Linked DNA regions of Homo sapiens: regions 1, 2, 4, 5, 6 and 7 are each linked to region 3. Evidence: promoter capture Hi-C in 16 types of primary human blood cells and fetal thymus (Javierre and others, 2016). All regions are on one chromosome and are shown on one strand. Each heading gives the region's core, a stretch centred on a gene start or on the middle of the fragment in contact. The rest is flanking DNA. Distances are from core to core; before and after follow the strand shown.

What was found. Contacts are between HindIII fragments. The CHiCAGO score rates a contact against its expected background, and 5 or more counts as called.
Region 1: a fragment that was not itself captured here is called in contact with the fragment with the promoter of LCA5 in region 3 in 1 of 17 cell types (erythroblasts); the score reaches 5.6 in erythroblasts.
Region 2: a contact is called between a fragment that was not itself captured here and the fragment with the promoter of LCA5 in region 3, in 4 of 17 cell types (megakaryocytes, total B cells, M2 macrophages and 1 more). The highest score is 6.1, in megakaryocytes.
Region 4: a fragment that was not itself captured here is called in contact with the fragment with the promoter of LCA5 in region 3 in 2 of 17 cell types (megakaryocytes and erythroblasts); the score reaches 6.3 in megakaryocytes.
Region 5: a fragment that was not itself captured here is called in contact with the fragment with the promoter of LCA5 in region 3 in 3 of 17 cell types (monocytes, M2 macrophages and M1 macrophages); the score reaches 6.5 in monocytes.
Region 6: a fragment that was not itself captured here is called in contact with the fragment with the promoter of LCA5 in region 3 in 6 of 17 cell types (megakaryocytes, erythroblasts, endothelial precursors and 3 more); the score reaches 14.9 in megakaryocytes.
Region 7: a fragment that was not itself captured here is called in contact with the fragment with the promoter of LCA5 in region 3 in 4 of 17 cell types (fetal thymus, erythroblasts, naive B cells and 1 more); the score reaches 7.3 in fetal thymus.

What each region holds. Positions count from the first base shown.
Region 1 is chr6:78,990,558-78,993,257 of GRCh38, forward strand. PHIP (PHIP subunit of CUL4-Ring ligase complex) reads right to left here. Exons shown (of 40, transcript NM_017934.7): 20 at 311-428. Among named protein-coding and RNA genes, the nearest start is that of PHIP, 86 kb to the right of the region's middle. The HindIII fragment of the contact is 3,230 bases long and covers 1-2,700 here.
Region 2 is chr6:78,880,129-78,882,828 of GRCh38, forward strand. All of the region lies in intron 1 of IRAK1BP1 (interleukin 1 receptor associated kinase 1 binding protein 1), which reads left to right. Among named protein-coding and RNA genes, the nearest start is that of IRAK1BP1, 14 kb to the left of the region's middle. The HindIII fragment of the contact is 231 bases long and covers 1,144-1,374 here.
Region 3 is chr6:79,536,057-79,538,756 of GRCh38, forward strand. LCA5 (lebercilin LCA5) reads right to left here and starts at 1,374. Exons shown (of 8, transcript NM_001122769.3): 1 at 1,109-1,374. It also overlaps a transcript of SH3BGRL2 not described here. RefSeq lists enhancers at 1,270-1,843, 1,838-1,887, 2,418-2,700. The HindIII fragment of the contact is 3,782 bases long and covers 1-2,332 here.
Region 4 is chr6:79,011,887-79,014,586 of GRCh38, forward strand. The region is part of intron 15 of PHIP (PHIP subunit of CUL4-Ring ligase complex); the gene reads right to left. All of the region lies in intron 1 of LOC124901346 (a long non-coding RNA gene), which reads left to right. Among named protein-coding and RNA genes, the nearest start is that of PHIP, 65 kb to the right of the region's middle. The HindIII fragment of the contact is 7,812 bases long and covers 1-2,700 here.
Region 5 is chr6:78,896,586-78,899,285 of GRCh38, forward strand. It overlaps IRAK1BP1 (interleukin 1 receptor associated kinase 1 binding protein 1), which reads left to right. Exons shown (of 4, transcript NM_001010844.4): 3 at 1,244-1,374; 4 at 1,479-2,700. The coding sequence ends at 1,749. Among named protein-coding and RNA genes, the nearest start is that of IRAK1BP1, 30 kb to the left of the region's middle. The HindIII fragment of the contact is 6,600 bases long and covers 1-2,700 here.
Region 6 is chr6:78,968,704-78,971,403 of GRCh38, forward strand. It overlaps PHIP (PHIP subunit of CUL4-Ring ligase complex), which reads right to left. Exons shown (of 40, transcript NM_017934.7): 25 at 2,078-2,185; 26 at 1,346-1,470; 27 at 1,132-1,214. It also overlaps a transcript of IRAK1BP1 not described here. Among named protein-coding and RNA genes, the nearest start is that of IRAK1BP1, 100 kb to the left of the region's middle. RefSeq lists an enhancer at 2,511-2,700. The HindIII fragment of the contact is 989 bases long and covers 822-1,810 here.
Region 7 is chr6:78,851,658-78,854,357 of GRCh38, forward strand. All of the region lies in intron 1 of LOC107986613 (a long non-coding RNA gene), which reads right to left. Among named protein-coding and RNA genes, the nearest start is that of IRAK1BP1, 15 kb to the right of the region's middle. The HindIII fragment of the contact is 698 bases long and covers 996-1,693 here.

The sequences.
Region 1 (2,700 bases), core at 33-2,532, 550 kb before region 3:
GACTGTACAAAGATGGCACACAAGATTATGAAGAGCTAAAGAAAGTTCTTGATGAGGCTTCAGTGTAATTTATTAGAATTTCATGAGTATGTAAGAATTGGCACTTTGGGAAAGGGTATGCTACAAAGCAGAAATGGAATTAAAAATTTTAAATAGTAAACAATAGATAATCCAGAGATAACCAAGATTTACTATGTTAATTTTTATCATTAACCTGTTTATAATACCATGTTAAATTACAAAATGGAGCCTTAAAATGGTCACTATACTTAAGAAGCAAATATTAAACATCAAAATAATTAATATGTACCTTTGAGACAGTGGGTATTTTATTCTCTTTTGGAACAGTTAAGTGTTTTCTTTTCTCTTCTGACCTGTAAGTCTTTATTTCTTCTTCTCCCTTTGCAGTTCTCCATTCTTCTTGCCTACTGAAAGACAAAAGCCATATGCATTAATCTAGAATTTTACACATAACTTTCCTCCAAAAGGAATGTTAGGTATCAGGAAAGGAACGCTACTCCTGATGTTTTATTTTAAGATGGAAGCATGTGATAAAGATTTCTAAGTTTAATTTCATAGGTTGTGGGCTCAGGACATCCGGCATTAAATGACTGAAATAATGGAAAGACAAACTCTGTCTACCCCAACTTGATACTACTGGTTCCTGCTATGGTCTCTGGCAAACCAAGTATTAGATTCTGGGAATGTGGTGATTCCTAGGGTAATTTTTCCAAGAGTGAGAAATTGGATTTTTTTTTTTTTTTTTAGGATAGGGCCTATGCTTTGATAATCTTCTGTTCCATATAGATAGCTGGAATCTCTTTAAAAATTCAATACAACAGACCCTGAGGTTACACGGAAAGCCCTGAAAGAACTACACTCTTTCCAGAGACAGGGAGGTCAGGTTTCACCGACTGAAAAAACTCAAACCATCAAGGTGAAACTGAACAACACAAATTGAGGAACACTAATTTTAAACTTTAATACAAAAAATGAACTCATGAGAAGATAATTTTATTTTTTATTTCAATATCTTACAACTTTAAAGTTTTTGAAATGCAAGGGTATTTGAAATTTAATTCTCCCTTAAGATTTTATAATAAGAAGGTAGTTAATACTAAAACACAGTGCAACTATATACTGTTGATATTTCTTTACTAGATGATATTAATGTTATCATGTTACTTAACGGCACAATCTCCATTGTGGCTGGCCATAATTCTGAATGGAAAATAAAATGAGCAAATTTAAATCTTGTGAAAAGAACAGGCTTGGATTTAATTTTTTTGTTCTTAATTTTTTTTTTTTAAATTAAACTTTTTACTGCAATAATTATAGATTAACATACAGTTGTAAGAAATAACAGCGATTATTTGTATCCTTTATCCAGTTCCCCCAAATAGTAACTTTTTTTTTTTTTTTTTGAGATGGAGTCTCGCTGTCGCCCAGGCTGGAGTGCAGTGGCATGATCTCGGCTCACTGCAGGCTCTGCCCCCCGGGGTTCACACCATTCTCCTGCCTCAGCCTCCCGAGTAGCTGGGACTACATGCGTCCGCCACCTCGCCCGGCTAATTTTTTGTATTTTTAGTAGAGACGGGGGTCCACTGTGCTAGCCAGGATGGTCTCGATCTCCTGACCTCGTGATCCCCCCCACCTCGGCCTCCCAAAGTGCTGGGATTACAGGTGTGAGCCACCGCGCCGGCCCAAAATGGTAACATTTTGCAAAACTTTGTATCCTTTATCTAATTCCCCCAAATGGTAACATTTTGTAAAACATGGTACAACATCAGAAGGAGGATGCTGACATTTATACAATCCACTGATCTTACTGAGACTTCCCCAGTTTTACTTCTATTAGTTTCTATTAGTTTGTGTGTGTGTGTACACAGGCATACATTGTTTTACTGTGCTTTGCAGATAGTGCATTTTTTTTTTTCACAAGCTGCAAGTTTGTGGAACCCTGCAATGAGCAAATGCCATTTTTCAACCACATATGCTAACTTCGTGTCTCTGTGTCACATTTTGGTAATTCTTAAAATATTTCTGGCTTTTTCACTACCATTATATCTATTATGGAGATCTGTTGTCAGTAATTTTTTATGCTTCTATTGTAGTTGTTTTGAAGCACCATGAACCTCACCTATATAGAACAATGAACTTAACTGACAAATGTTACGTGTGTTCTGACTGCTCCACTAACTAGCCATTGCCCCATCTTCTCCCTCTCCTCAGGCCTCACTATTCCCTGAGACAGAACAATATTAAAGTTAGGCCAATTAAAAACCCTAACTGATCCAGTGAAAACATCTCTCACTTTAAATCAAAGGTAGCAACGATTAAACTCTGTGATAAAGGCATGTCAAAATCTGAGACAGGCTGAAAGCTATGCCTCTTGTGCCCAACAACCACGTTTTCAATGAAAAGGAAAAGCTCTTGAAGGAAGTTAAATATGCTACTCCAGTGAACACAGGAATGATATGAAAGTGAAGCAGGCTTGTTGCCGATACAGAAATAGTTTTTGCGGTCTGGATAGAAGATTAAACCAGCTACAACATTCCCTTAAGCCAAAGCCTAATCCAGAGCAAGGCTCTAACTCTATTCTCTTCTATGAAGGTTGGAAGAGGGGAAAAAGCTGCAGAAGAAAAGTTGGAAGCTAGCAGAGGTTGGTTCATGAGGCCTAAGAACTACCTGTGTAACATA
Region 2 (2,700 bases), core at 9-2,508, 660 kb before region 3:
AAAAGGAGAAAATCTATGTGACCTTGGGATTGAAGATGAGTTTTTAGATACAGAGGTTGAGTATCCCTTATCTGAAATGTTGGGACCAGAAATGTTTCAGATTTCAGATTTTTATTTTGGAATATTTGCATTATATACTTAATGATTGAATATCCCAAATCCAAAAATCTAAAATTCAAAATTCTCCAAAGAGCATTTTCTTTGAGCATCATGTTTGTGCTTAAAAACAAGTTTTGAATTTTTGAGCTTTTCGAATTTTGGATTTTCACATTTAGGATGCTCAACCTGTGTTACCAAAAAGCACAGTCCATGAAACAAACAAAAAGATAAATTGTATTTTATGACAATTAAAAACTCACTTTGTGAAAAACATTGTTAAGAAAATGAAAAGTCAATCTATAGACTGGGAGAAAATATTTGTAAATTACATAGCTGATAAAGGACTTGTATCTGTTAAGAAAATGAAAAGTCAGTCTATAGACTGGGAGAAAATATTTGTAAATTACATAGCTGATGAAGGACTTGTATCAAGAACATATATAGACCTCAATTCAGCAGTAACAAACAGCTCAATAAAAATGCACAAAAGATCTTAACAGACACTTCGCCAAGGAACTTATACAGATGGCAAATAGGCACATGAAAAGATACTCAACATTACTTGTCAATAGGGAAATGGAAAATAAAACCACAATGAAATACTGCTATGTACCTATTAGAATGGCTTAAATACAGTAACACTGATACCAAATGCTGGGAAGGATACAGAGCAACAGGAATTCTCGTTCATTGCTGGTGAGATTGCAAAATTATATGGCCACTTTGGAAGGTAGTCTTATAGTTTCTTATAAGTTAAATATAGACTTACCATAGAAGTCAGCATTCTAGGATAATTTGCCGAAGTGAATTGAAAACGTAAGTACATATAAGAATCTGTACACAAATGTTTATAGCAGCTTTATTCATAACTTCTAAAACTGGAAGCAGCCAAGATGTCTTTCAGCAGTGGCATGGATTAAAAAAATTGTGGTACATCCATGCAAAAGAATATTATTCAGCAATAAAAAGGAATGAGAATTGATTCACAAAACAATGTGAGTGAATTTAGCTGCATATTAGTCAGTGAAAGAAGCCAGACCCAAAAGCTTTGAATTTTATGATTCTATTCATATGATCTTCTGGAGAAAAGCAAAACTATGGGGAACGAAAACAGATTAGTGGTTAACAATCTGTTGGAGGGCAAAGTGGTTGACTAAAAGAGATGCACGGAGAAATTTTTAAGGTGAAAGAACTATTCTTTATGGTACTGGAGTGGTACATACATGACTTTATGCATTTGTCAAACCTCATAGAGCTGTAAATCACAAATAGTGAAGCTTGATGTATGTAAACTGGAGGAAAAAGGCATCAAAGAGCCTATCACAGGATCAATCCCAGGATAAAATTTATTCTCTTGACAAATGAACCCAGTTCTTACAAATGAGTGACATAACTGTGCTTAAGGTGATAGGGGCAGGGACTGTCCTAAATTACTGGAAAATGGTGTTTTGACTGGAAATTATAAGGATGAAGAATAAAGATACAAAAACTCCATGCTCTAGTTGGTAAATAAGTTTTCCAAAGGGGTATTTGTTAATAAGTCTGAAAGTGCTTTACATGTATATACTGGGGTTAAACAAATAAATAAGTGGATAGTGGATGGTGGGAGCCAGGTTTCTCACTATCAGAGAGGGAAGTTACAGATAAAAATGGAAGGTTAAAATGAATTCTGTGATTCAGGATTAGAGTTGAAAACATCAGTGTGAACTCATGTTTACCTTTGTATATTGTACAGGTGGAAAAATACAGAAAATTTTACATGTAAGTTAGTATCTGTGTGCGTATATATATGTCTATGCATATATATATGTAACCTAGCTCTGTCCACTGAGAGAGCCTAGAAGGAATGACACCCCAATAGCAGTGAGCAGTCTCAGCATTCAGATCTTGGTTCTACATAAATCTCAAAGAAAAGGTACTATGCTTCTTGGAGAAAGGGCTTATTCTAGGACTGGGGCAAGGAAACTGCATAAGCCTATAATATCTTGCAACAGAAAGTAAGAAAGTGCTCAAAAAGTAAAGGAAAGGGGTATGTCAAACAGATAAAGGAGCCAACCTGAAAGAAGTCCCAATGGCCAAAGCTAGAACAATTGAGCAACAAAAGAAATAAAGTAGTATTTATTGAGTGAGTGTGGGCTGCACTTAGTGACATGCTTCCAATTAATAAAGTATGGAAAGGGGAAAATAGTAACTTTACAGTGGAGGAAACTGGCAAACACTACTTTACCCAAGTGACCAGTATTAGTATTTGGAGTAGTGTCATGTGGATACCATGTACTGCCTGATGTGTTGTGATTAAAAAGGCATTTCACCTCTATGGTATTCTTTCCTAAAATTTATAACTCTAGTCTAATCATGAGAAAACATCAATGTCAAAATGAGGGACATTCTGCAAAATACATGACCAAAACTTTCAAGGTCATGAAAAACAAAGGAAGACTGAGAAACTATCAAGAGACCAGAGGAGACTAAGGAGACTTGATGAATTAATGCAATACAGTATCATGGATTTGATCCTGTGGTAGTAAAAAGGACATTTAATAGAAAAACTGGTGAAATCCAAATAAAGTTTGGAGTTTTGTTAATGGTAATCTACTAATG
Region 3 (2,700 bases), core at 124-2,623:
TTTTTGATATTTAAAATGATACTTTGTCAACTTAGAGAATCAAAACAAACTATTATTTCCTATAACTTATTTGGATAAACATACTAGCTAACATGGGAAATCACAAAGTGAAATATTTAAAATGGTAATATAGAATTTAAATGTGGAACAACTGGAAAAAAACATAGATTAAAATAACCATGCAAAAGAAAGAGGGAATGAGTAAAGAACTGGAAACATCGGTTTTACCATTCTAAAACACATATAGCCACTCCCTCTGCCAAAAACTAAATGATGACTTCTGATTGCAAAGATATCTCTAATGCAAGTTCTTAACGTGAAGATAAAGGAGGGGAATAAATATGTATGTGCCCAAGTATACTTTCCAAAGAACAAAGTGAACAAAAAAGGGGTTTATATCAGATGAACTGGACCAGGGCTCTTCACTGTTAAACACTATCCCACGGTCTATCTAACGTAAACATCACGTATCTGAGTACCGACTCCAACTCGAGTATGCCAAAAAGGCACTTTCTTTTTTCTTTTATTTCTAACCATCTTTACTCCTCTCATCCCATCCCTGAAGGATGTATAGAAGTATCACAGCCTGGACAAGTACGGCTTTCCACTCTAACCACAGTTTTAATAATAACACATCTATTATTATCCGAGAGCTACCAAAGCCTCCTTTTCCGTCTTGGCCCTTGGCCCTGCCCCTCCTCTCTAGTCTTGAGTCTCCACGGGCCTCCGGGGTTTTTGTTTTGTTTGTTTTAATAACAACCACTTCTCTAGATCCGCTTGCTCCCTTTCTTCTCTTCTCGGTCCCAGGAAGTAAATACCCTTTCCCAGCTCCTCTCCTCCTAACTTCCCAGTCCCCCCAGTGCCGGTCAACCTCCCTTCCTCGGGACCCTCTCAGAAGCCGAGCTCTTTACTCATTTTCCTAGGTCTTCCTTCTCCTCGCGGTCCCTACATCCTCCCCCATCCCTAATCCCTTCATCTTCCCTGCTTTAAGAACCACCCGCAGGCCCCCATCCACGAACGCCCCTTCACTAGCTACCAGACGCTTCAACCCAGCCTCACCTCGCACCTCCACCTCCCCCGCCGTCTCCACGCCCACTTCAAAGCCCACCTCCAACCCGCAGGCTCTTCAGCAGAGCCGATGCGGCGTCCCGCCTCCTTGCCTTCCCTCTTAGGACCAAACTCCCAGCTGGGGCCTCGGCGTCTGACCGCCAAAGAGCGGGTGCCTGGTTCCTGCGGAGGCTGCCGGGCGGGTGCCGAGGTTGCCGAGATGCGGGAGGTTTGAACACAAGGATGGGACAGAGGCGAGGATCGGGGCTCCTGGGTGGCAGCGGCGGTAACCTGGGCTCCAGGGTAACGGAGGCGGAGGCCTAGACTGCACTACGAAGAGACCGCAGCCAATCATGATGACTCTACCCGAGCTCCCATTGGCTTCTGTCTCCAGACGGCCCTTTTTATTGGCTTCAGTGGAACTGGAAGGCGGGACGGCGAGTGCGGGAGAAGGTCTCCATTGGCCGACCGCTCTAGCTGTAGCGGAGACCCCCAAGTAGGGAAATTGGGGCAAAACGCGGAGCGCTCCAGGCTCCTACGGGCTGTGCGGTGCCAGGGCTCGACTGCTGAGCGTCGTGGGCTCCGAGAGGGACGCGGGCGGAGGGCAAAGTGGGTTCATGATATGAATTGTAAAATTGGCGACTGCGTAATGTAAAACACTTAACAATTGCTTAGATTTCCTTTGGGAAATAACTTGCTTTTAAATTGTAAACAAATTACAAACAAACTGCTAGTGCTTCTGGATCTTCTTACCGAAATGGCTGATTCAGGAGGATGCGGGGTGAGTGCACTATTGTTCCTGCCTCGAGATCCTGGCTGTGAATCACCAACGAGCCGTGAGTTTGGCTTGAAAGTGATTTTTAGGTTTTGGAACGGGTTTGGGGTGGAATGGCATCTGAAATATTTGCACACAAGTTTTTTTTTTTTTTTTTTTTTTTTTTTTTTTTTTTTAAGGAACGTTTTGAGGAGCATGTCAGCCTATTGAGCGCTGATGTGTGACATATTTTCTCTTTTAGAAATGGCATTAATTGCGGGAGACAGGGAAGGTAAAAAAAAATCCTCTTTCGTGAGGGCTTTAAACTGCTCCGAGCCATCTGATTATCAAGGTGGTTTAACACTACTCTGGTGTTCTCACTATTGTTAATTTCTCACTGGCCTTTTTACCACCATTCTGTAGAGAATCTAATATTTGAAGGCAAATGCGTTTAATGAATCTTCTAACCATGAAGATTGGTAATTCCTGCTTCTCGCTCAACCTCGTTTTTCCACCTTTGCACTGTTTCAAAGCTTTCATTTTATCCTGTCAATACATTTTACTTCAAGTTACAGACTAACCCACCCAAACAATATTGTGATTAAATGTAATTTTCTGTATGCGAAATACATCTGTACAAGATGGCAGTCATCTGTTAGTGAAAATAAGATGAGTAATCCCTAAATTGCACGGAATTACTTTTCATCAATTCTTTAATCTGTCTCTGCTGACACTGTTAAAATAGCTCACTCGTTATTATGGACTCTGTTAGAATTAACATGTAAATGTATGGGTGGATTACTTATAAAGGAAGTTGCTAGGAAGAATCAGAAAACATACCGTATTTACGTGGACAAATGTCTGTCACAGGAGCGTCAGATCAGGATTGCTGAAGGAGA
Region 4 (2,700 bases), core at 35-2,534, 520 kb before region 3:
TTGATACAGAAAAAAATTAGAATACTTATTACAATGATGACTATCAGTGCAATATTAAAATATTAATGTTTTATAATCTTATATTTAAAAATTATTAAAATGTAATTACTATGTATCAAACAGGCATTTGAAAGTTCACCTTTTCACTTGAAAGGCTTTTTAACATAACAGGATTTTTGGCTATTTCTAAAATTTCAAAAAAAGAATTTACATTTCCATAATTACACAAAAAATGCAGTAAAATGCTGATGAATACAAAATACTAAATTATATGTTACATGATTTCCATTATCTTTTGCAAAGGTATAAATTTCCAATGGAAAATTCAATTATTATTCAAAAAGCAGGAGAAATATTAAAGTATTCTTAAAATATACTTGATAAAAACCAGTATTTAAGAAATTTGTACTAAAACTGTTATTCTAAAGGTATAGTCTACATTCCTTATTTTCTAGCTGTAGGTGGAATGGTGAGTTTACTTATCTGTTTTATAAACTTCAGTTTTAACAGTCACATGAAATATTATTTAATCTTAAAAATACTTCACATAACTTTCACCATTTCTAGTCAAAAAAGGAGTATTCCACCAGAATTCTTCATCCTCTAATAGACCAAAGCACTATATATGACTAGACCCTTCACATGGTGCTCAAAAAATATTTACTAAACTGAACTTGTGATTACTACTACAACTTAACATTAGGGATTAAATTTGTATGCAATCAAGTATCGTGGTATTTTAGTAACTGAAAAACTTATTGATTAGCTACAGAGAGCCAAATAGCTATAATTATAGCCAAAACTCAACATTCATGATAGCAAGCAGTGAGAACGCAGGCCCTCCCTCGAATTGTTTCTCTTTATTTTCTTAATAGCAATGCTGGATGCTTTATCTTCCATTTGCCCATAAATAAAACAAGCAATGAAAAGAACAAAAGAGTGAAGAGCAAAAAGAATTAGGGCAATTAGATAACTCATAAAAGACAGACAGGAAAAAAAATCAAGTTAAAGAGTAAGATGTCAAAAGATCCACTCAGATTTATTACCATTATGAAAACATTTCTTCATAGACATATCACTAACTGAGTATTGTTAAAAGTTAGCTATGCAGTAACATTGACAAAAGCTCAAAAAGCCAACCATGACAAGATTTGAGTACAACCAGAGTCATGGGTTTATGCTCCAAGTGCCCGCATAATAGCTGTGTGAACTCAGTAAATTGGGGCAAAGCACTTTATCTCTGTAATGTACAGTTTCTCCATTCCTAAGACCAAGAATAATAAAATCTATCTTGATCATCTTACAAGGTTTTCATGAGACCCAAAGGAGGTAAAATATGTGGGAGCATTTTGGAAACCATTAAACATCATACAAAAAATTAAAGGTAGTATCTTTATTTTAATGAGATGAAGGGTGGCTCACTTTCTGTTTTTTAGCTTTTTTGGTTTATGTTTTGCTCACTGTCTGCAATTCTATGAATACTATCCAATTCAACTTATTACATGTATTTGTTTCTTCTGCTCTTTAGAGTTTTCCTATCTCTTATCCATAAAAAGAACCAGAAAAATATCCTCATCTAACACTCTTATTTAACAATAAACAATTTTTAAGGCAGTAATGTAACCAATCCCTCAGCTAATTTTTAAAAATATACAATATATTATGGCTGACTTCTACTCCTGGTTACATTACTAATTTTTAATGGTCTAAGAGCAAATCACTTAACTCTCAAGGTGCTGCAGTTTTTGTTATCTACTGAAAAGGTAGAATATTAGTGTGACCAACTTACCTGATAAGGGAAAATTCACCTTTATATAACTGAAAAGTTAAAGCGGTATTCAATTATGGGAGAAAAGTTTCCCTCCAAACACTCTACCAATATAATAATGTCCTTTGGAAATACAAAACTACTAAATGAAGCCACTAGTATATATATAGCTCACATATTATTTTTTTTAAGCTATAAAGACAGATTGAGAAATGACTAATTTCCTTATTCAACAGATATTCCAAAAAGGAGCAAATCAGAAACACAAGGATAGAAAAGCAGAAAATATTTTTTACTAGCATATTTACAGGTGGCTTTTTAAAAAAATCTCAATACAATCACAAAGGAAATCCATCCATCACTAACAAGTGCACACCAAATAATTAACACTGTTTTCTAGAAATAGAGGGTTTTACAAACCTTATTTCTTACCTAATGTATTCTAAGGCACAGCCTTAAAGATAGCTAAAGCTATTTCCCTCACTAAAAAATCTGCTATTATATCTGCTTACTCACGACATAGAAATAACTTTACTCTGATTATCAATCAAGCATAGCATCACATTCGTGTAATTTTTTCACAAACCATGTTTCACAACTGTTTTGTGAAATAATTTATTTGGCAAAATAATTCTGACCACATGTACTAATTGTATTGTTTTATGGTTCATTACTAAAGATTTCTATAATTGGTTTTTTAAAAAAATTTAAACATGCTGAAATAGTGGAAACTGTTTTTTCTTTTGTTCTTTGTTGAAAGGTATCTCTAATATACAGAAAGTAGACATTTAAAAAATATGACTACACAAACTGCAGTAGTTGAGGAGACCTTAATACTTCATACAGTAAATAGAAACACTGCTCGGTAAGTTGTATGTGATATATTAAAACATTGTAATTCAAATACTTGGCCAATTATGTTAACATCTAAG
Region 5 (2,700 bases), core at 17-2,516, 640 kb before region 3:
ACCTGAGAGAATTTTTAGGGGTGTTGGAACAGGTCTAAATTTTTGTTATGGTGGTTACAAAGTTCTATACCTTTTTCAAAAGTGATATAATTCACTAGGCATGGTGGCACGTTCCGGTAGTCCCAGCTACTCGGGGGGCTGAGGCAGGAGGATCATCTGAACCCAGGGGTTGAGGCTGCAGTGAGCCCGTGATCACACCACTGCACTCCAGCCAGGAAAACAGAAAGAGACCCTGGCTCAAAAAAAAAAAAAAATTATGATTAAAGACAGATGTTCTGCATTGTATAAGGTGAGGTTATCTTATGTCTCTCTCTGCTACTCCAGCTTATTCTGTAGTATCTGTATTTTGTTTTGCATATTGACCTTGTGTTAAGGGTTCTTTAGAAGAAAAGGTTTAGGCTGCGTGTGGTGTCTCATGTCTACAACCGCTAAGGTGGGAGGATTGCTTGAGGCCAGGAGTTTGAGACCAGCTTGGGGAACATAGTGAGACTCCACCTCTACAAAAAAAATTTTTTTAATTAGCTGGGCATGGTGGTGCATGCCTGTAGCCCTTCCTACTTGGAAGGCTGAGGTAGGAGGATCGCTTGAACCCAGGAGTTTGAGGCTGCAGTGAGCTATGATAATGCCAGTGCACTCCAGCCTGGGCAACGTAGCAAGATCTTGTCTCTCTTAAAAAAAAAAAAAAAAAAAAAAGACAAGGTTTAGTTCCCTTCATTGAAGACTTAACAGACCGGTTTTAAAGTATTGCCGAATATAAGGACTGCTTCCACATATTTAAAGGCAGAAGACAGAGTGAAATACATTAGCTTCCACATATAGATCTGAACAGAACTATTGGAAGAAGAAACATTTCTCAATGATAGCAGTGAAGTATGGCATGATTACTACTAATCAGGAAGCTAAGGGCATTGATTAGACAAAGGAATCATGCTAGTTATCAGGATTAAAATTTAGCCAAGTAATAAGGTTTAAGGGAAACTCCTTCAATTTCATTTAAAAATCCCTGGTTTAAAATATAAGTTTTTTAATATTCAAGACAATATTAGATAAATTTGAAAATTCAAAAGCAAAAATCTTAAAGAACAAAATAATTTAGTTATAAGTATCAAATAGGCTTTTAAAAATCTGTTACATACTATAAAATGACCTCATAGTCTGGCTATACTTTTTTTACTTACATGTAGAGAAAATCTTGAAACAGTACATCAGACATGAAAATAATATCGTGTCATTTCATTTACAGGTCTGCATTACATTTACTGAATTTGGAAAAATGCAAAATATTTGTAACTTTCTTGTTGAAAAGCTAGATAGCTCTGTTGTCATCAGCCCACCCCAGTTCTATCATACTCCAGGTTCTGTTGAGAATCTTCGGTAAGTTTAAGCACATCTTTAACTAAGATATTCTTTAAACAAAACTATCCAGTGCTACATTTCATTGAGTGTCATATTAATAATCTCTCCATTTAATTCCTAAGACGGCAAGCCTGTCTTGTTGCTGTTGAGAATGCGTGGCGCAAAGCTCAAGAAGTCTGTAACCTTGTTGGCCAAACCTTAGGAAAACCTTTACTAATCAAAGAAGAAGAAACAAAAGAATGGGAAGGCCAAATAGATGATCACCAGTCATCCAGACTCTCAAGTTCATTAACTGTACAACAAAAAATCAAAAGTGCAACAATACATGCTGCTTCAAAAGTATTTATAACTTTTGAGGTAAAGGGAAAAGAGAAGAGAAAAAAGCACCTTTGAAATTCCAAACAAATTATATTGTACTTGTATCTTTTTACCTATTTTTATACTTTTTATAATGTTTACGTTTGTCCTGAATATATATATATATATATATATATATATATATATGGTATAGGAGATAAGCTATTTCTTTCCAAAATCTATAAATCTTTGAATATAGTCCCACAGAATACTTATGTTCACTTTCTATTTTTAAAAGACTACTCTGAAAAACACTCTTGGATAATAAATGTATTATGTGCATACTTATATACTGACAGTTCATACAAGCACATGTGTAATATTTCTATTATAAGGACAGATATTGACCCTTGCATTTCATAATTTTTAAAGATATTTAAGCTAAAATTTTCTCAGCCACATTTTTATATAAAACCAAATTTTATGTAAAAACTAGGCTTCAATAAGTTAGCTAAATTTTTTAAATTGTAAGACAAAATTTTTATGGAAAAGAATTCCTATATCCCATCAAACCTAATAATTTTCCACAACTAAAAATGAGTATAAATACATAATTTTAAGTGCATCCTGTCAGGTCTGATATTTAATTTTACTTTAGTTAGAAGCTAAGTAGTTACCCTGTTACTTCTTCATGGATGCTAACAGAAGACTTGAGATTCCCAGACAGAAACAAAGGACTATTACTCATGGCACAACAAGGAGCATGAGCATCAGCACATTCTCATTGCTTCCCCTTGTCCCAGGTCCCATGGGGGCAAAATGATATGGCCATATGCAATATGGCTACATATACAGCAGGCTTTTGTTGTAGGTAAAGAATACTGAGCTTGGAGGGTTCACTGCTTTTTATCCATGAACAGAAGCAAACCTGCTCTTTGCCTCATCCCTTATAGATGCTCACTCAAAACTCAATACTGAGAAATGGCCCAGGTAAAGAACAGCCAAGGTCTTTCATGCTTGCCACACCCAGCAATATGTTTAGGAAGG
Region 6 (2,700 bases), core at 66-2,565, 570 kb before region 3:
CTTCCTTATATAATTTTGTTTTCCCTAAAATTAATAATTGCTTCATTTTTTTAATGCTTGGTTTTCAGTGAATTTACAATTAAATCTTCCCACAATCTCTAACAGCTCAAGCTGTAAAAAACATTCTTCAATGTAATTTTCCACAAAGACAAACTTGTTAGATAAGTTATGTGTTCCAATTTTTTCCCCCTGAAGACTTTCCTCTTGAAGGAGATTTGGACCTGCTAGGTAGCTGCTATCCTGAGGCTTCTACTGAATATTATTTGGGATTCCTTTTAACTTTTCCTGTTCTGGACTTCCTGTTTCCTGAGGGGATTCCATTCTTTTCCCTTTCTTGGTTACTCCCTTATTTGATGAAACACATCTTTCAAAACTTCTAGGGAAATGGAACATGAGATGTAAATTTTCTTTCTAACTTCCATGTCCATAATTTTGATAGCTTCCAAATTTTCCTAATTTCTCCTTACAGAGCACATACAAGTTTTTAACAAAGGACAAACCACCATGTCAATGCGTTCTAGTGGCACTGAAGGACAGACTGGTATATCAATTGATGTGCTTTTTCAAACCATACATACCGTGTACACATCATACCATGACACACACTGGTCCTATATGAAATTTTTAAGAGAACTACTCTCATAAGTGGCACATCATCTATATGTAAATTAATGCACCTTAAGTGCCTGAAAACTTTTACAGATTTTAGTTTCTTTGAGACTTGTTTATGATACTAATTTTAAAGATTATAATAGGATTAACCAATAAAAGAAAAATGTCAGTTTAGCTTTAGTCCCAGTACAAACTTATACATCTTGTTAAGCTTCTTTTGGCTTCAAATTTAAATTGTTATTAATATTTTTATACAAAAATTTAACTTAACATGTAAAACATGAAAATAAAGTCAAATGTAACAGAAAAAATGTTTTAAATTTCAACATCGACTGTTTTCATTCCTAAACAAAACTTAACAATACCTCTGACATAGTATCTTACTTTGCTATTAACATTCCTACAAATAGCAAAAAGATTTCTCTGATAATCTTTTTCTCAATTATGAAAAATAGTAAATCACTTACTAAGAAAAAAAAACCACATCAAACATCGATAGCTTCTAAATAAATTACCCACCTATATTCCATCGCCTGTATTTTGCATCATCAAATTGTTGTCTCAAGACTAGGAAATCTATAACGTCAGGCATATCATGGTATCTAATTACAAACAGAAACAAATTGATTAGGTCACATACCTAAAAATACCTAAAAGATGTTCAAATGTATCTGAATCTTGAAAAACAATCTACAATACTAAGAAAACCATTGCCTCTTTCAACAGTCCTTACTTCATGGTAAATGATCCGCCAGTCAGTTTACCAGTATCAGGATCTAGAAAAGCAAGTTTAAGGCAGCAAAGGGTAGGTAATCCCACTTCATACTTTATGCCAACTATTTTCATAAGTTCTTGTTCCTGAGAGAGACAGAGAATATAAGGAACCATCTTTACAAAATAAACCACAAAATAGACTGCTAAACATTGTTGAGAAAAAACTTCTTGGTTTAAATCTTGATCTGGATGGTGATGACTGTGTACATGTAAAAATTCACTGAGCTCTGTATTAAGATTTGTGCACTTTATAGTATGCAAGTTACAATGAAATTTTTAAAACGTAAAAAAGGAAAAAAAAATAAGGAGAACTTTACTAAAGTATAGTTACTAAAGTAAGTTTTCTATCACCATTCCAAAGACCTATTGGTAACTGAACTACTGATGACAAATCTAGAAATACGCATCAAATTTACGAATACAAAGCTTACTTTAGACTTATTACCTAATTTTCACTATAACTAAATTTTGTACCCAACCCATAAACTGCATTGGAGTATATAAATTCAGTCAAATCTTGTGTTTCTCTGGATGAAAATTAAACACCTCCTACTCTCTAGGACTGCTTCAATTAAACAAGGTATCTTCATGATGCAGTTTCTTATTGTGTTAATAGTAACCTTTGATACAATTTTCTCCAAATTCCATAATTGTATTTTTGGGGCTATTAAATAATAAATCAATGTCATACCCGTAGCTCCATTTTATGCCATGGTTGTTTTTTGGGATTGATACTATATATTTTATTTTTCCGGGCCATTTCGACATAGGCTTCATGTCCTTGTCGGAAATAATAAACCTAAAAAATAAAGTCATAATCTTACAACCTGGATGTGTTTCCTTTAATCCAATATACAGGGTATCAGCTGAAATTGCAAAGAGAAAATCTAATGCCTTTTCAGCTAATAGAAATTCTAATATTTTCTCCCTCCTCCTTTCTCTCAAGTTGTCTTAACATCACTAAATCATAACCAAAGTGTTCTAAATAACATTACTTTGAATACACACTTATAAGTTAAGATGAAAAGTTATTTTCTGGTTTCACCATTTTATTCTTAAAATCAAAATAAGTTAATCTATGTTGCATAATAACGTTGACTAATAAGTTTATTGTCCACTTTTGTTGTTAACTTTTTTAGCAAGTAGTTTGTACATATGCAGAAAACATTGAAATGAAAAATGTACTTTCACATATATTTTAATCCTTACACAAATCCTGGTAAGACAGCAGGGCATACATTTATCCACATTTCATGAAGATCAAATTTAAGTGACTCCTGACTACTGTCTTGGAGAACTAGTACTTGAACACAG
Region 7 (2,700 bases), core at 95-2,594, 680 kb before region 3:
TTTAATATCATTAAAGATTCTATCATAAAATAATTCAATGTTGATAATTTGCATAGACTACTTGTATTAAATCAGCCACATTGCCCAAAAATTCAGAATCATTTAATCCCTGATATTTCTGAGTGAACAAAAATTAATTATAATGGGGGAAGGACAGAACATGAAATGACTAATAGGAAATTAGAACATTTTCTTCTGGACAGATGACTAGTGAGCTGGCTATGAAGTGTATATAAAATTGTTAGGTGTATATGAAAATCATTAAACTAATCTGGCTATAAATGAGATGGAAATCAAGGCACATCAAAAGATCAGTAAGGTAAAAAGTGCTGGAACCACTCATAGGAAACCCTGAAGTTCACAGATTTGAAACTTAAATTTGATATGAAAGATCACTTTAGACTCAAAATTGCTGATACCAATGATAAAACTCTTTTAGTGGCCACTGAATTAGACAATTGGTTCAGGAAGGAAAGTCTGGAAGCAAAGAGACAGGAAAACTATGACTATGACAGAATAATGATTATGGTTGTGAAAAGGGGCTGATCCAAGGATACTACTAGTCATTTTCTATGTTTTTTCTCTATTTTTATATTCATTGCATCTCAGGAGCACTTCATCCACCTCTATATCTTATTAATCAGTATTCTTGAATGTACTGAATTTTATGAACATGTTTCCGAGAGAATATAGTTTCTTTTTCAGTTCTATTGTCATTCCCTGAATGTTATTTATCTAATGTAAGCCTCCTTCGGACAATCTTCTATGGTTCTTATAGTTTATTATATTCTCTAGCTTTGTATGAGAAGTATAATTTATGCTTTGTATGAGAAGCATAAAAGTCTGGGGAAAAAAGATGACAAGTCATAACTTTATCCTCATGGGCACACAACTTCAGTTAAATCTTTTTGTCTAACAGGTACTGTCTCTTAACTGGGTGAATGGCATTTTCAGATAAGCAGTTTTCCTCCATGCTTTGTTAGAAATCATGGAAAAGCTTTGTTCCATCAAAACTTCTGTACTAATTGCTCAGATAATTCTCAAAGCTAAGGCTGTCTCAGCTCCAAAAGTTGTGATGCCAGACTATACAAGACCATTGAAGTTGAGTGCGTTAAGTTTTTACTGCCACGTGTCAAGCACTGTGCTGCAAACCTTTAAATATCTGCACAACCATTCTGTCAATCCAGTTATCTGATCTGTCAACTGGAATCTCATCCTCTGAGACAGGCTCCTGTGGGAAATTCCATTGTTCTTAATCCTATGGACTTGCTTTCTCATAATTGACTGTGTCTTCCACTTTTGCTGAACTCTTGATCTCACATATCTTGCCCTTTGCAGATGCTCCTTATCTTTGTTATACACATAGCTTCTTTCCTTGATTTCTCCCAAATCACAATGCAACACAGTCATGTTGTTACATTGCCAAGATGCCAACAACTAAACATTGTAAATTAGACTTCTGTGGTCTTTAAAGTTATGGCCACTATTGCTATCAAGGCATTTGTCTCCTTCTCCACAGGATTCAGCCTCCTATCTATCTTGCATGGCCTTTTCTCTAATTCCTCCCCCTTCTCTTTCTGGCATTTCTCCTCCCACATCTCTATTCATTTCTTTGTACACAACTGTTTAGTTCTTTGTATTGCAATCACCTTCTAGAACTCACACTCAAGGCCTCACCTTCCACACTCAGATAAGCTTATCAAGGCATTTTTTCTAAATGAAGACAGTGCCCAGTTCCCTAAGTGGAACTCTAGTACCACTGGTTCATAATATTTTTGGCCCATTAAATATATATATAAATATATATGTATATACACACATAAACGATAAAGCAGGCCGGGTGCAGTGGCTTACACCTGTAATCCCAGCACTTTGTGAAGCCAAGGCAGGCAGATCACGAGGTCAAGAGATCAAGACCATCATGGCCAACATGGTGAAACTCTGTCTCTACTAAAAATACAAAAAAAAAATTAGCTGGGTATGGTGGTGCACACCTGTAGTCCCAGCTACTCAGGAGGCTGAGGCAGGAGAATCACTTGAACCTGGGAGGCGGAGGTTACAGTGAGCCAAGATCGTGCCACTGCACTCCAGCCTGGTGACAGAGCAAGACTCTGTCTCAAAAAAAAAATAAAAAATAAAAAAATAAAGCAACTGGGCCTCACAAGAGATGAATTACACAGCTCACCAATCTTAAAAATGCAGGCCATTTTACTCTAAATGCCTTTGCCTTTTAAAAACACAATGCTGGTTTAAAAACATGCTTTAATTAGTAAACTTTACTTTTTTTAAATTGGACCGTGTTTTTTATTTTTATTAATTTTTTAAAGACCAGGTCTCACTCTGTCGCCTAAGCTACAGTGCAGTGGCATGATCTTGGCTCACTGCAACCTCCATCTCCTGGGTTCAAGCAATTCTTCTGCTTCAGCCACTCAAGTAGCTGGGATTACAGACATGCACTGTTGGGAAAAAGCTGAGTGTTGGGAAAAGAAACTGAGGCAGGGCTTGCATGTCTGACATAATGGCCTCTGGAATGTGTCTAGACTTGCTGGCTCCTTGCTTCTAGCCCTCCTAGGCTCCTAGATCAATTGTATTCCCATTATCTGAGGTAGCAGAACATATTCCATATAAATGCTAAACCATCACAGCTGTAGATCATGTGCCTGCCCTTTTGAACCCCACATTCTCACCAACTGTTTCTTT